2 separate regions of the Homo sapiens genome follow, and region 2 is linked to region 1. Evidence: promoter capture Hi-C in 16 types of primary human blood cells and fetal thymus (Javierre and others, 2016). All regions are on one chromosome and are shown on one strand. The core of a region is centred on a gene start or on the middle of the fragment in contact, and the rest is flanking DNA. Distances in the headings are between cores, read along the strand shown. Region 1 holds the start of MKRN3 (makorin ring finger protein 3). Region 2 has its middle 40 kb from the start of MIR4508.

The links. The method cuts DNA at HindIII sites, captures the fragments that hold promoters and counts their contacts. A CHiCAGO score of 5 or more calls a contact.
Region 2: a contact is called between a fragment that was not itself captured here and the fragment with the promoter of MKRN3 in region 1, in 1 of 17 cell types (neutrophils). The highest score is 7.9, in neutrophils.

Annotation. Positions count from the first base shown.
Region 1 is chr15:23,560,886-23,568,754 of GRCh38, forward strand. It overlaps MKRN3 (makorin ring finger protein 3), which reads left to right and starts at 4,789. Exons shown (of 1, transcript NM_005664.4): 1 at 4,789-7,159. The coding sequence starts at 4,898. The coding sequence ends at 6,421. MIR4508 (microRNA 4508) reads right to left here and starts at 1,246; the gene lies at 1,177-1,246. The HindIII fragment of the contact is 4,614 bases long and covers 4,330-7,869 here.
Region 2 is chr15:23,518,415-23,526,283 of GRCh38, forward strand. No RefSeq gene overlaps it. Among named protein-coding and RNA genes, the nearest start is that of MIR4508, 40 kb to the right of the region's middle. The HindIII fragment of the contact is 1,261 bases long and covers 4,363-5,623 here.

The sequences.
Region 1 (7,869 bases), core at 3,539-6,038:
TGCATTTAAGAATTTAAGAATGCATTAAATTTTGCCTCTAAGCATGACTTTAAGTGCAACCTAAGTCTTTTAACATGTTATACACTCATTACTGTTCAGTTGAAAATATTTTCCAGTTTTCTTTGTGATTGCTTCTACCACCCACAGGTTATTTAGGTTACTTAAGGCCATCTTTTTTTTTCCCCTGAGCACTCACCACATTAACTATTTCCTGTCTTTTAAGCATTTACTTCATGTATAGTAACCAGTTTCTATCCTTGTTCCGGATAAAAATACTAGCTTGAGATAAGTTATTTCATCTGACTACAAATTGGACATTAAGCATGTTTTGTATGTATAAAATACAGCAGTATGACAAAATTCTGTTAACCACCTTAAAGTTGAAATGTAGTTGAATTTTTGACATCTGTAGACAGAAGATTTCTTGAAAATTTCAGTGTTTGATTACAATATAGAAAAATCAGTATAAGCAGTATCTTTTATGATCTTTAAGTGGTTGTAGGAGTACTTACACCTCTTTTTCATATTCATATTGAAATTTAAAGCCATTTTAAAGTAACTTTTTGTTATCCAGTTATTCACTCAGGGTGATCAGATGTCTATTCAAAACAGCCAACAATGAGCTAAAGGAGTGCTGTTCCAGCCAGAATCCTACTGCTACCACAAGTGATGAAAGCACAAGAAATCCTCCACAAAGGTATTCTACAACTAAACTTCTGAACTAAGGGTTGGAGAAAACTGGCTCTTTAAATTTCAAAATAAAAATCAGTTTGTCTATCAATATAAGGCAATAAATACTCATTCACCACCTCTCATGTGCCAGTAATTTCTAGGGCCCCTATAGAAATCTGACTGCTGTGCACATAGAGGGACTGACACAAAGACTTCAGTCACAGGATTCTTTGGGTGGTTCTAAAATAGAAGAGACACTTACAGGTATCTTAAAGATCAGGCATCGTTCCAATCACTTTATAAGAATTAATGAATTATTATAAATTAATTAATACAGCAAACCTGTGAACTAGTCGGTGTAATTCTTGCTGTTATTATTCCCGTTGTCAGATGGGATAAAAGAAGGTAACTAATTTGTGACAGGGGAAAGTCTCAGATAGTGACCAGTGGATTCAGGATTTAAACCCACAATGCCCGATTCTGGACACTCGCGTTTAATTTCTGCGGCCCTTGCAGCTGCCGGCGCAGGCGCTGCACCCAGCGCTGCTCCGCGCGCCCAGCCCCGCTGGGTCCTGGACCCCGCCGGCAGCCGGCAGTGCCTAAAGGTTAGATCTGAAGGATAGGAGAGTGCTGAGAAGGATAATGCTTTTAGGCAATTAATTGTGTGTTCTTTAAATACGGACATGTTAACCACACGGGGCTAGGCAGCGCATGCCTGAGCTGTTTGGAGTAAAAAACTGCAGGACTTTGCAGCTTCTCTCCATCCTGCAGTTCACTTCTGAACTTGCTCCCTCCTCTTAGGATATTCTTAGACTGCCCGGACTTCACCTCAGCTCTGCCATCGCCCAGCCTTGCACTCATTCCATTCGGACCCCCAAATGCTGACCGGCCAGGGGATCCCATGCTACCCTGCAGACTGGTGTGTGCACAAGGAAACCAGGTCCCAGCCTCTGAGGCTGTCAGTGTTTTGTTAGAAAAGAAGGCACAGCTGAGCCAAATAACTAGACAAATGACTAAATGTCTACTTTCTGAGAACTGTAAAAACAATATTGATGCTCAAAAAATATACATATGTATATATCATGGCAGGAATATAGACAATGGCAGTCAGAGGAAATGATCTCTGAAGACATTTGGATAGGATGGGAACTAGTTTATTTTTCTCAAGATGCACTGCCCAGTTATTTCCAGTTATTCAATTTTTTATGGTATTTAAAATCATGGGATACAATATTGGCTTATAACAGTTTATATGAAATATTGTCACGACAAAACTAAAAGATAAAGTCACTATCAGACTATAAGACATGAACACCAGTGGCAGCCACACAGGTGGGCATTTGGAAGCAAACACTGCCTGGCACCAGCTGCATAGCCTTGGGCAGGTGAGGAAACATATGCTTCTCAGTTCCCTTGTGTTAGGAGATGAGATGGTCAAATATTGTATAGAACTTCACTCCAATGCAGTAACTACTAGCCTCATGTGGCTATTTAAATTTATAATTTAAAAAATGGACATTCATTTCCTCCGTCACTCTAGCCTCATTTCAAGTGCCCAAGAACCCCATGGGGCTAGCTTTCATACTGTACAGCATGCATATATATAAATTCTTCACAGAAAGTTCCTCTGGACAGTGCTGGTGCATCAAGAGAGGGTCAAATATGATTTAGATACAGTGCTGGGAAAATATCACAATTAAGCAAATAATAGATGCAGTGCTAGGAAAATATCACAATTAAGCCAGTAATAATTTTATATTCAGGATTCTTATGTTTGTGAATTTGTAGAGAGCTTGGCGTAGAAGCCTGAGAGCTGTGCTGCAAGTCTTTTTCTTGTAAAAATCACTGGGGCTGACAAACAAATCCTGATAAAGAGAAAGTTTGTTTCAGAAAGTTCAAGTGAGGCAGACTTTGGGACAGCTTGCATGCAAAATATAAAACTTGGTAACTATGAAAAGGAGAAAGATAAATCCAACATTTCCTACATTCACGATGAATAATCAGCACCATTTTCAAATAATTATCAAATTAGGAAAAGACTACCTTTTAAAAACATTGAGCCTTCTACTGACCGACTATAAAGACTATATATAAAGTATCCCACAATTTATTTAGGTCTTCTGAAGCTAAAATGTTTTTAATTTTATTGTATAACCTTAATTAGTTTAATTCCTAGGTTAGCTAACTTTTAATGTTGTTATGAATGTTATTAATTTTAAATGTTTACTTCAAATGTTATTGATGATAGAGAAATAAAAATGATTTTCATATATTGGACTCCTGTCCAGTGTCCTTGCTAAATGTACCTATTAAATCTAATAGCTTATCTGTAAATTATTCTCAATTTTCTGTTGCATTCCATCAATAATTTCTTTCCAGTTATAACATCTTTTATTTCTTTGCTATTACACTAGCTAGGACTTGCAATAATAAATACAGATTTTTTTTGCCTTTAGATTTATTTCAGAGAGAAAGTTTTAGAGACCTTTATTTAGATAATTATCTAAATTACAGATGTAATTTAACAGATCCATATTCACATGTATTTCTGCTCCTGTCATTTTTACTAATAGATGTTTCCACCAATATGACTATTTCATGTAACTTTTCAAGTTTTATCTCCTAACTTTGTTCCTGATATTCTCTAATGATTTTTAATGTCTGTTATTAATGTAGTGATAACATATTTGAAATTACTGATCTTGGGTATTAGAGCCTTCTTCATTTTTCCTTGATAAATTTCACCAGAAATTATCTGGCTTCAATAAGCAGTTTAAGGGATTTTACTTAATTTATTTCCCTTATTTAATATTTGTTTTTCTTCATTGCTTTTCTTGCCCTTATTATTTGCTTCATTCTGCTTTCATTGCTTTTACCTACTTAATTATAATTTAATTTGTTGACTTGGGTGATTATAAATATTCAGATATGTTTCCACTTTACAGATTTAGGCAACAAAATTTCCTCAAAGAAACTTATAGAAAAAAAATCCAATAATATATAAAATGATATATCATGACAGAAGGGCTTCTTATTAGAAACAAATTGGTTAGTTAAATATTTGAAACTCATAGCTGCAAATAATCACATTAAGAGAATAAAGGGAAAAACAAAATTGTCTCAAAAAATGTATAAAACTACATAACAGAATTCAGTATGCAGTCATGATACGTACTCTCAGCAAAGTAGGAATACAAAAAAATGATTAATCTACTACATTTATCTGCAAAAATGACAAAACGCTCATACATGGAAATTAAAGACCATTCCTTTGTGGATAATATGGCACAGGATATGTTATGAAAGGCTGTCCTGCCACAACACAGCACAGATGGGGTTGAAAGAAAGGAAGGGAAACAAAGGGCTGCCATGAATTAAACCAGTAGAGAAAATAAAAGCCTGGGTCATGCAGGGGACAGTGTCTTATTAGGCCAGCATCAGGACTGGTTGAAGTCTGGCGCTTCTAACACAGTGGGAAAATGAGCATAGTAATCACAATAAAGAAAGACATCTGAAAGGTGCTAACTTAGCCTCGGATCAGAAGTGCTCTCTGCTAATGCCTTGCTGGTGAAAAGCGTATCCAGTGTAAGCCCTCAGAAATCCCAGAAAACAAAGACCAAAAGAAACGGCGCCTTGTCAACCGAACGAATTGAAAAAAGCTTCCTGCCGCGATCGGGCATTAAAAGAAAAAAACCACAGACATAAGATGGAGTGAATAAAAAAAGAATTTATATAATTCATGGATGAAATGTTTCAGAATCTATAGGATTATATTTTTTTTAAGGCAGACAGATACGAAAATACAACGAAGCGTGCATGACCGAAACCAGAAGAGATTAAAGTAAAACCTCATTCTCCTGAGGAAATCGTGTGAGAAGGGACTTAGGGACTGCCGGAACACAGCGAAGCAGAGGCAGAAGGCAGACAAAAGGGGCTGGGTTGGTCCCCGCCTGTGTGAACGAAAAAATATGTCAGATTGGAAAATTGCGGTAAAAACCAGGCAGAGCACGTACGTTGCCCCCACAGGAAGTGTCCGCCATGCTGCCTGTGCCCGGAAGTAGGTAGGAACACACAGTCAGAGGGACCCAAAAGCAGGGGGGAAGGAAAAAGAGATGCACACTTCCCCCAGAGAAGCCTCCGAGCGCGGCCGCCATTCCGGGCCTCAAGCCCATAAAGAAAAAATACCGGAGAGGTTCTGGCACCATTTCGGGGTGCCAAAGCAGCCATGGAAGAGCCTGCAGCTCCCTCAGAAGCCCACGAGGCAGCCGGGGCCCAGGCAGGTGCTGAGGCAGCAAGGGAGGGTGTGTCTGGGCCGGACCTTCCCGTCTGTGAGCCCTCCGGGGAATCTGCTGCTCCAGATTCAGCCCTGCCACATGCGGCAAGGGGCTGGGCCCCCTTCCCTGTAGCTCCAGTCCCTGCCCACCTCCGCAGAGGAGGCCTGAGGCCTGCCCCAGCCTCAGGAGGAGGAGCCTGGCCCAGTCCGTTGCCAAGCCGAAGCAGCGGCATTTGGACAAAGCAGATCATCTGCAGGTATTATATACATGGGCAGTGCAAGGAGGGGGAGAACTGTCGCTATTCGCACGACCTTTCTGGTCGGAAGATGGCCACTGAGGGTGGCGTTTCGCCGCCTGGGGCCTCTGCAGGTGGAGGCCCTAGCACGGCTGCGCACATCGAGCCCCCGACTCAGGAAGTGGCGGAAGCCCCCCCGGCTGCATCCTCCCTTTCCTTGCCTGTGATTGGCTCGGCTGCTGAAAGGGGTTTCTTTGAAGCCGAGAGAGACAATGCAGACCGTGGAGCTGCTGGAGGAGCAGGTGTAGAAAGCTGGGCGGATGCCATTGAGTTTGTTCCAGGGCAGCCCTACCGGGGCCGCTGGGTTGCATCTGCCCCCGAGGCTCCTCTACAGAGCTCAGAGACTGAGAGGAAGCAGATGGCTGTGGGCAGTGGGTTGCGGTTTTGCTATTATGCTTCCAGGGGAGTTTGCTTTCGTGGGGAGAGCTGTATGTACCTCCATGGAGACATATGCGACATGTGTGGGCTGCAGACCTTGCACCCCATGGATGCTGCCCAGAGGGAAGAACATATGAGGGCCTGCATTGAAGCACACGAGAAAGATATGGAACTCTCGTTTGCTGTGCAGCGTGGTATGGACAAGGTGTGTGGCATCTGCATGGAGGTTGTCTATGAGAAGGCCAACCCCAATGACCGCCGCTTTGGCATTCTTTCCAATTGCAACCATTCCTTCTGTATTAGGTGTATCCGCAGGTGGAGAAGTGCCAGACAGTTTGAGAACAGGATCGTCAAGTCTTGCCCACAGTGCAGGGTCACCTCTGAATTGGTCATTCCCAGTGAGTTCTGGGTGGAGGAGGAGGAAGAGAAGCAGAAACTTATTCAGCAATACAAGGAGGCAATGAGCAACAAGGCCTGCAGGTATTTTGCGGAAGGCAGGGGTAACTGCCCATTTGGAGACACATGCTTTTACAAGCATGAATACCCTGAGGGCTGGGGAGATGAGCCTCCTGGGCCAGGTGGTGGGTCATTCAGCGCATACTGGCATCAACTTGTGGAGCCTGTGCGAATGGGAGAGGGCAACATGCTCTATAAAAGCATTAAGAAGGAGCTTGTCGTGCTTCGGCTGGCCAGTCTGTTGTTTAAGCGGTTTCTTTCACTGAGAGATGAGTTACCCTTCTCTGAGGACCAGTGGGACTTGCTTCATTATGAGCTGGAAGAATATTTCAATTTGATTCTGTAGCATCGTGCTGTGGCATGTGGTCTAGTCTGCTGAGGTTCTGTCGTCTGCTATTGCCTGTTTTCCCTGTGTTGACACTCTTACTGCTTTCAGGGGCTGTTGAGGCAGTGCTTCTGTTTTCTTGTCTATTCTGCATATCTTTCCCCCTAGGATTATGGTGATTATCTGTGTTAAAAAATAAGTCCTTAAAGTTACTGTTTTGGTGAAATTAATATTAATGTCAGCTTATGGCTTTTTTTTGTCATCTCTGTTGTCAACAGGATTAACTCAGTTCTAGTGTAGTGTTTACTGAATTTCCACACTTATTTTGAAGACCCTCAAGAGTAAATGTGGCAGAGTGAAAGGAGAAGTTTTAATTGAACTAGTAGCTTTGTGCTATAATAGCCTTAACAAATGGACCCTTGCAGGGCTTTGCAGCTGCTCATCTGTTTGTTTACAGTTTGTTCTTTCCCTCCTTCCCCTTCAAGTGCACTTGTTAAACTGTGATGAACTTGTGATTTTGTGTTTTACTTGACCAAAACCAAGTGTATATGTTTACATGTTTTTATCCTGTTTAGCTTGACATGAAATAATTTATATTTGGAAATATATATTTAAGAATTATATATATAAAAATATATATGTATAAGAGTTATGTATTTGAAAAAAATATATAAAAGAATATACATCACAATATAATATTTATGTTTATGTAATAAAGTAAATACAGAGCTGAAAGCTGAAGGTCAAAGCCTAACAGGATTGGCTGTTGTGTGGATGTGAGTTGTGTGAATAATCTTTCTGTCCCTCGCACAGAAGCCAGTAATTAGCATCTAATGAAAAGGACTGTTCAAGTGGGTCTGGCCAAATGTGACAGATGCAGATCTTAGAGGACTTACAAAGCACTATATTGGTAATTCTTACAATGGCATTAATAGCTTACTCTATAAATACAGAAATGGTTTTCCTATGCAGTTTAGCCACCTTCTCATTAATTCTTTGTAACAGCAAATCCTAGGCTCAGAGGCACAGTGCTTTGTATTTGATATACAAAGTCTCTAGACTTTCCCAACAAGGGGCTTTTGACAAAAGAGTTCAACATAAAAGTAACAAGATTATAAAAGGGAAAATAGAACAAAAATATTAAAACCAATGAGAATAAAAGAATGGAAAGATAAAATAATAAAATATAGAAAGCACTAAAAACTAAGTGTAAGACTAATATAGAAAATCTACATACAACTTAATTAGATTAAATGAAAGCAGTTTAAAGACTGAAAGTCAAAGGCTATAAGACTTCATTACAATCAGAATGAAACATCCTGTTTAAAATACACACAACATGAAAATACAGAAACACTCAAAGTAGTAGGATGGGAAAAAGCCGAACAGGTGCTGTGGACTCTCTTGATTGTAGACAAAGTTTATAGTAAGGATAAACACTTTGCTGGAGATAAAAAGGAATGGTACAT
Region 2 (7,869 bases), core at 3,743-6,242, 42 kb before region 1:
TCTTTGAGACAGGATGTCCGACGTAAACCTGAAAATTCCCACCCTCCAGATGGCCGAGACCAAGAAAGAGTACCTCAATATGGTTGCAAAGTCAATTTCTCAAGGACATAAAACAAGACAGAAGGGAAACCTTACCAGTTTTGCTTCTGGGACCTGAAGCAAAGTTTGTAACTAACCAGTCGGCTGGGCCAACTTGAACAGCAGGCTTACAAGGTCCTAGGCCCACGTTCTATCCTGTGGTACCCCTTTCCAAGACAGAACAACACAGAAACACAATTGCACAGCACAAAGTACACCAGATTTGCTATAGCCTCCCCGTTTTTTTGTTTTTTTTTTTTAACCATTAATTAAAATCATGCAGAGGAGACAAACAATGGTTTTTACCATTCACCTAACTGGTTTGCACAGAGAAAGGCCAGAAGCCTGGCTGGTAATAAACTCTTATTGTTTTGCCAGCATTCCAGGATTCCAGATTCCCTTTCTCTGTAACTTCCAGAAAAGTAGAGTGGCTTTTGATGATCCTGCTCACTGCACCATAGCTGTGGGGGCCAAGCTGTGTTACAAAGTCTCTCATTTTTGCAAGATGCTGTCCAATGGGTTGCATGGAGAAAAAAAGGTGTCAAATTAAACACACAAAAGGAAAAGCAGATCAGGATGTCAGTGATGCAGACTTCAAACCCACATGCTGTCACGTTCTCTCCTCACAAAGACAGCACAGAGTCAATAGGCTCACAGGCTGGAACAGACAGATGACAGAACAACCCATAGACTTCCCTTCTCCACAAAGTGTGGCAAAGGGAGGAAAAGTACTTAGAAGACTTAAGAAGATTACAAAGTTCAAGCCAGGGTGCCAGACAGAGTTTCCTATCAACTGAACCAATTGGCTGTTTCAATCCATCCTGCACGATGCCTATTAAGACTGAGCCAACCGACTGTTTCAGCCCGTCCCTCACAGGTACCTTTTCAGGTGAAGCCGATGAAGTTAACGAAAAGCAAAGAAGAAAGGAAAGCTGGAAGAAGAAGGAAAAAGACACAACAAATCGGGGACAGGAGGGGAGGGAAAGTGTTGTCTGCAAGGTTGGAAAGGAGACTTCAGGAAGCTGGAGAAAAACTCACCAGTTGCCTCAACGTTGAATCAAAGATCCAGGCAGCCGCTCTTCAGCTGTGAAGGGGTCATGTCTGGGCATCCCACTGGCTCATGAACCTCCCTCTCCAGGGAGGAAAATTCTCCCCACATCCCATGGCCTACTGCAGTCACCAGAGAATCTGTTACAGACCCATATAATGGAAATTAACATGGGGCCAAGCAGATTTCCCAGACAAGGTTTTTATTTCTGGGCTTGTATTCCAGTGCAAGGGAGACAGTGGAGGTGCAAGGATTCTTTAGCTGGCCCTCCAAAAAGAGCCAGTATAGAATTTTTAGTAGGCAAAGCATGGGAATTGACATCAGGGGTAGGGTATGGAGGCTGGGTTGGGCACAGCACGTGAGGAGTAGGGTACACAGGTCAGCATATCTGGTTGCGATGGTTGTCTTGAGTAATGGGCCACCAGGTGGTCTAGTCAACAGCAGCAAGGCTGTAAATCAGTTGTTCAACATTCCTTCCCAAGGTGGGACACTCAGCAACCTTGGTTCAGTATTTCTGATCTCCTAAGGCCAGTTCCTGGAATGAAGTAAAAGGACTATTCGCAGATATGGAATCAATGAGGTAGTGGTATGGGTTTTGTGATCAGTGAGAATGCATGAAACAATGCTCTAGCGGGGATGAGCTGAAGCCAAACCCCATCCCTGCTCTGTCTCAATTCCTGTGTCTCTTCCAGGTTGGCATGGCACACTGGTAGTTCAACAGTTCTGGGGTCTCAGTGGCACCCCAACCCCTGTGGCTACCCTAGGCATTGCCCTAATGGAGACTTTCTGTGGTGGCTTTGCCCCATGTTTCTGCCCCTAGATTTTCCATAGCATCCTTTGAAATCTACTGGTCAAGCAAAGTGTGGCATGGTTTTTTTTTTTTTTCCTCTTAGAGTAAAATGAGAGAAGGGAGAAATTATTTAAAGACAGAATTTATAATTCAAATGGAATCAGAACGGAAAGATGTAGAAAACCCTAAGCTTGGCCATGTAAAGAATAAAGAAATACGTTCAGGAGAGAATGCTAATGGTGTGGCAAAGTGACCATTTTCTAAAGAGATTAATATGGATAAAAGAAAGCCAGGTTCTAGTCATCAAGCAATTGGAAAATGAACTTGAAGGTAGTTCAGAAGAATCTTAGAGGCAAGGTAGGACCTGGAGGCTACCAGGGAGCCACAGCTCTTGCACGCTGCACACCTCTAGAATTAGCACCATGTGCACGCTGCACACCTCTAGAATTAGCACCATGTGCACGCTGCACACCTCTAGAATTAGCACCATGTGCACGCTGCACACCTCTAGAATTAGCACCATGTGCACGCTGCACACCTCTAGAATTAGCACCATGTGCACGCTGCACACCTCTAGAATTAGCACCATGTGCACGCTGCAGAGTTTACTGCTTCTACTTTCGGAAGCAGTAAGTTAAGCAGCACTTGAGCCCACTTGAGCCAAGGCTGGGGTGACCAAAGAGTGCTGCCCCAGAATGTGGGGAACAGAGTCTTGAGGTAGCCCGGGGTAGCCAGTTCTGAGATCTTGTATATGCCTCTTTTTGAAAATGTAGCCCTCAAGGTCCTACCTTGCCAGAAATCCTATTGCTCTAAAGTTCTGCCTTCCAGAAAGTCCTAGGACATGAACAAAATTATGACAAGTTCTTTGCAACCATTTAACAAGAATGGCCTTTAACTCCAGCTTCCAATGCCTTGTTCCTCAGTTCCATCTAGTATTTTGTCAGAATAGCTTTTACTGTTTATATTTTGACCAGCATTCTAATTATTACCACTTAAGTGATACCTAAGAAATTCTAGATTTTGGCTGGGCGCAGTGGCCCATGCCTGTAATCCCAGCACTTTGTGAGGCCAAGGTGGGCAGATCACCTGAGGTCAGGAGTTTGAGACCAGCCTGGCCAATGTGGTGAAACCCCATCTCCACTAATAATAAAAAAGTCGCCAGTTGTGGTGGCATGTGCCTGTGATCCAGCTACTTGGGATGCTGAGGCAGGAGAATCCCTGGAACCTGGGAGGCAGCGGTTGCAGTGAGCCCAGATCGTACCACTGCACTCCAGCCTGGGTGACAGAGTGAGACTCTGTCTCAAAAAAAAAAAAAAAACAAAACAAAAAATTCCAGATTTTCCCTGCAGTTCTCTTTTTCTGAGCCCTCAACAGAATGGGTCCCTAATGCTCTGTTCACAGTGATACAGTCTTTTTCTAGCCTATTTCTCCAAATTCTTTCAGCCTCTGCCCATTATGCAGTTCCAAAGCCACTTCCACATTTTCAGGTGTTTGTTATATCAACACTCCCATTTATTGGTATGAAATTTTTGTCTTATTCCATTTTGTGCTGCTATGTCAGAATACTACAAACTGAGTGATTTATAAACAATTGAAATTTGTTTGATTCATAGTTCTGGAGGCCAGAAAGTTCAGGGGGCTGGCATCTGGTAAGGGCCTTCTGGCTGAATCATAACATAAAGAAAGGTATCACATGGTGAGAGAGATCAAACTCATAGCCTCAAGCTCTTTTATAATCCACATTAACCCATTCATAAGGGTGGAACCCTTATGACCTAAACACTTCCCATTAAGCCCCACTTCCCAAAACTTTTGCATTTAGAATTAAGCTTCCTTCACATTGTTTTTTAGAGGACACATTTAATCCATATAAATAACTAAGAAATACTGACCCCTGAAATAGGTCTTTGCCAAACACAGGCTGTGACCAGAAACATACCAGAATGCCCAGCCCTGGAAACTGTGGCTTCAGTGGCCTGTCATTTTTTTTTTTAGACAGAGTCTTGCTCTGTTGCCCAGGCTGGAGTGCAGAGAGGTGCGATCTGGGCTCACTGCAAGCTCCGCCTCCTGGGTTCACGCCATTCTCCTGCCTCAGCCTCCCGAGTAGCTGGGACTACAGTCACCCGCCACCATGCCCGGCTAATTTTTTGTATTTTTTGTAGAGGTGGGGTTTCACCGTGTTATCCAGGATGGTCTCGATCTCCTGACCTCGTGATCTGCCCAGCTCAGCCTCCCAAAGTTCTGGGATTACAGGCGTAAGCCACCACACCCAGCCTGTCATTCTGATTGCCCTAGGGTGCGTCACCAACTGAGCCGGTATCTAGCCCCCAAAGTTTAACCAATTAGTAAAGTTCATTATTAATATTGTAACAACTAGAAAACTTGGGCAAAGAACAATGTGGCAAACACCAGAAAGCACAGAAACAAGCAACAAGGCTAAAGCACAAGCTTGCCATAGGTGGAAGTTCTGTACCAAGCCTCTTTTATGGTGGACTGGAATTGATTCACAAGCCAAGTGAAGTCCCTCCCTGCAGCCATGCAAGATTCCGTGGTCATGGCCATCCTGTTTGAGATGCCAACTGCTTTTTAAGATTAAACAATTATTTTGATGGCAGGACACAACACAATAACACTCAAATAGAAGAGAAGTAGAAGTTTTTGTTATATACAGCTCCAAAGGAGAGGAGATTGCCAGGTAGGGTGAAACAGGGGATTGCATCAGAAGACAGGGTAAGGTAATAGCAACATGGAACTGTAGGGGGAAACTTACATATGGCAAATAGGGTGGGGTTAGCTAGGTTTTGTGAACTCCTCATGGATTGTCTAATTTGAATACTCTTTTAGGCCCCAGGGTATAGGAGCTGTCCCTAGATGTCTGGTACCTGAATCCGGTGCACTTAAGGCTGATGCATGATGGCCCAGAGGGTGAGATTCTAATAAGGAAAGTGGTTGGGGTACGGACTTACTGAGCTGTTTAAGAAGAGGAACTGACCAGCCTCTAGCAAGAACCTCAAAATTGAGTGAAGATTAAAAACAATCAAACAAATGAAAACCCCACTATATAACATAGATATTCTGTCCTAGCTAACTCGATGACACAGGATGAACCTCTCACCCAAAACTGGGTTTAGATATCCGAATTGATAAGACTCACACACAACTCAAGAGGGTATAAATATGTTTACTGCTCACATAATGAAGATTTCCGGGGAAAGCAAGGCAGCTCCAAAGCAGGTCCAAAAATGGCTTAAGAGAATGAAAAAAGAAAATGGACTTGTGGTTTTGAAGGTAGTTAGGAGTGTGGCTGGGATGAGCATTCCATTGCATGGTTTTAATTTCCTGCTCCTGCACCAAAGGATGGAGTACCCACATTTTCTTATCATATTGTCTATATGTGAGGTAGAAATGGAAGCGTGAGCTATGGAACTTGAAAGCTGTCAGAAGTCAAATATCAAAAATGAATGATGCCTTTTAGACACATAGCTTGAACTACAGAATATGGCTGAACTATGATGCAAGATAAACACCTGCCTTTATTGTCCAAGATTAAACAAAGTATCTCCTTAAGGCATTTCAGCCCCGCATCAACTATAGCTTCTAGAGACCATAGACTTCTACCAATTTTTCATTCGTTGCAAAAAAGTAATTGAGAGATTGAGAGGCTACATAGGGACTGCAAGATAGCAAGCAAGGCCTTTTGGAATATAAGCTTTTAGGTGTTAAAGTTGCATTTTAGCTTTAGGTTTGAAATTGCATTTATTAGTGTACTTAGGCAAATTTCATGTTGAATATGAATGAATATTGCATTTTCATGAATGAATATTACAATTTACATTTTTATATCTGTGGTTACTGTAGTTTTTATTCTTTATCCTTTCTAATAAGTTTCATAGATTTTTACAAAAAGAGTTATCAATTTTGACATTATTGACAGGAAATGCATAAGAAGCAAGTTTGTTCCATTTGGATTGTACAATCTTTTTTTAAAAAATTGTGTTCTGCCTGGGCACGGTGGCTCATCACTGTAATCCCAGCCCTTTGGGAGGCCGAGGCGGGTGGATCATGAGGTCAGGGGATCGAGACCACCCTGGCTAACACGGTGAAACCCCATCTCTACTAAAAATACAAAAAATTAGCCGGGCGTTGTGGCGGGTGCCTGTAGTACCAGGTACTTGGGAGGCTGAAGCAGGAGAATGGAGTGAAACCGGGAGGTGGAGCTTGCAGTGAGCCAAGATCGCACCACTGCACTCCAGCCTGGGCGACAGAGCAAGACTCCATCTCCAAAAACAAAACAAAACAAAACAAAACTGTTTTCTACTACTATATCCTCAACACAGATAACTTCTGATATCAGATATGTGGGGATCTCTCCCCATACACCACGAAATTCTCTAGCAAACTCACAAAAGCTAGGAAAACAGTTTACTTATTATTGCTAACTTATTACAAAGGGCATTTCAAAAGATACAGATGAATAGCCACATAAAGAGATACATAGGGTGAGGTCTAGAAAGGTCCCAAATGCAGGAGCTTCTGGCCTCATGGAATTGGGGTGTGCCACTCTCCTGACACGTGGAAATGTTTCTATTCATTAGCCCGGAAGCTCCCCAAGCCCCATACGTTAGGGATTTTTCTATTTTTTTTTTTTTTTTGCTGGATGCATCATCACATAGGGATGATCAATTATTAACTCAATTTCAAGCCCAATTAGTCATTAACAGTCAGTCCATTTCATCACACAGTGTGACCAGAATGTTTCCTAGAGGGATGCCACTCAGGTTTGCAGGCTGCCATTCAACTTTGTCAGGTTTCAAAAGCAGGGGTGGTCTTGGAAAACACATTGCTTCACCCTTCTGGGCATCTGGTATAATTGTGCTAGGAGATAATATCATTCTCTTGCTCTGAGCCTCTCTTGAGGTATTAATACAACATTAGGCTTCTCTCATTGCATAATCCACTTATTTAGTCTTTTACCCTCAGCTATTATTTCTCCTTCTCTCCATTTGACATTTATTTTTACTCAAACTCTCCACCTTTTAGAGGGATAATGTGCTCAACCACTGTCTTGGTCTACAGTACTGCTAGCAATACTATTCTACCAAGTGCCTTGCTCTCAGCTCAGTCCCACTGATACAGGCTGAGGTTACATAGAGATAAAAATACGAGCTATTCTAACCACTAGGAAACATGGTAGCATTCACTGTCAACCCCAACTGTGCCAGTCCATCCTTCAGGCTTTTGGAAATTCTGGCCTAAAGTTTAAAGGTATAGGTATAGTTTCTTGCTTAGGAATCAGCCTGCTTCCAGTACCTGCAGTTGCACCCCTGGTCTTGGAATCACTGCATCAGGTAGGAAAAAAGACAACTGAGGAGATATGGGGAAGAATTGTGTAGTTGTATTAGAATCCTTCCCCAACCTCTTGGTATGGTTTGGATTTGTGTTCCCTCCAAATATCATGCTGAAATGTGACCACCAATGTTAGAGGTGGGCCTAGTGGGGGGCATTTGGGTCATGGGATTGGATCCCTTATGAATGGCTTAGCATCATACTCTTGATGATGAGTGAGTTCCTTCTCAGTTACTTCACACAAGATCTGGTTGTTTACAAGAGTCTGGGAGTTCCTCTTCTCTCTCTTGCTGCCTCTCTCACTGTGTGACGTGCTGGCTCTCCCTCACCTTCTGTCATGATTGTAAGCTTCCTAAGACCCTCACCTGAAGCAGATGCCAGCACCATGTTTCCTGTACAGCCTGCAGAACTGCGAGACAAAATAAACCTCATTTTCTTTGTAAATTACTCAGCCTCAGGTATTTCTTTACAGTGTAATCAAAATGCTGGTTCAGTCACTCACCACTTGCAGAGCCCAACTGATAAGAGTGAAGTTTGGTATAAAGAAAGTGACTTTGTATTCCAAAGCTAGCTTAGGGGAAAAATTTCCAGCTTCCTGCTTTTAGGG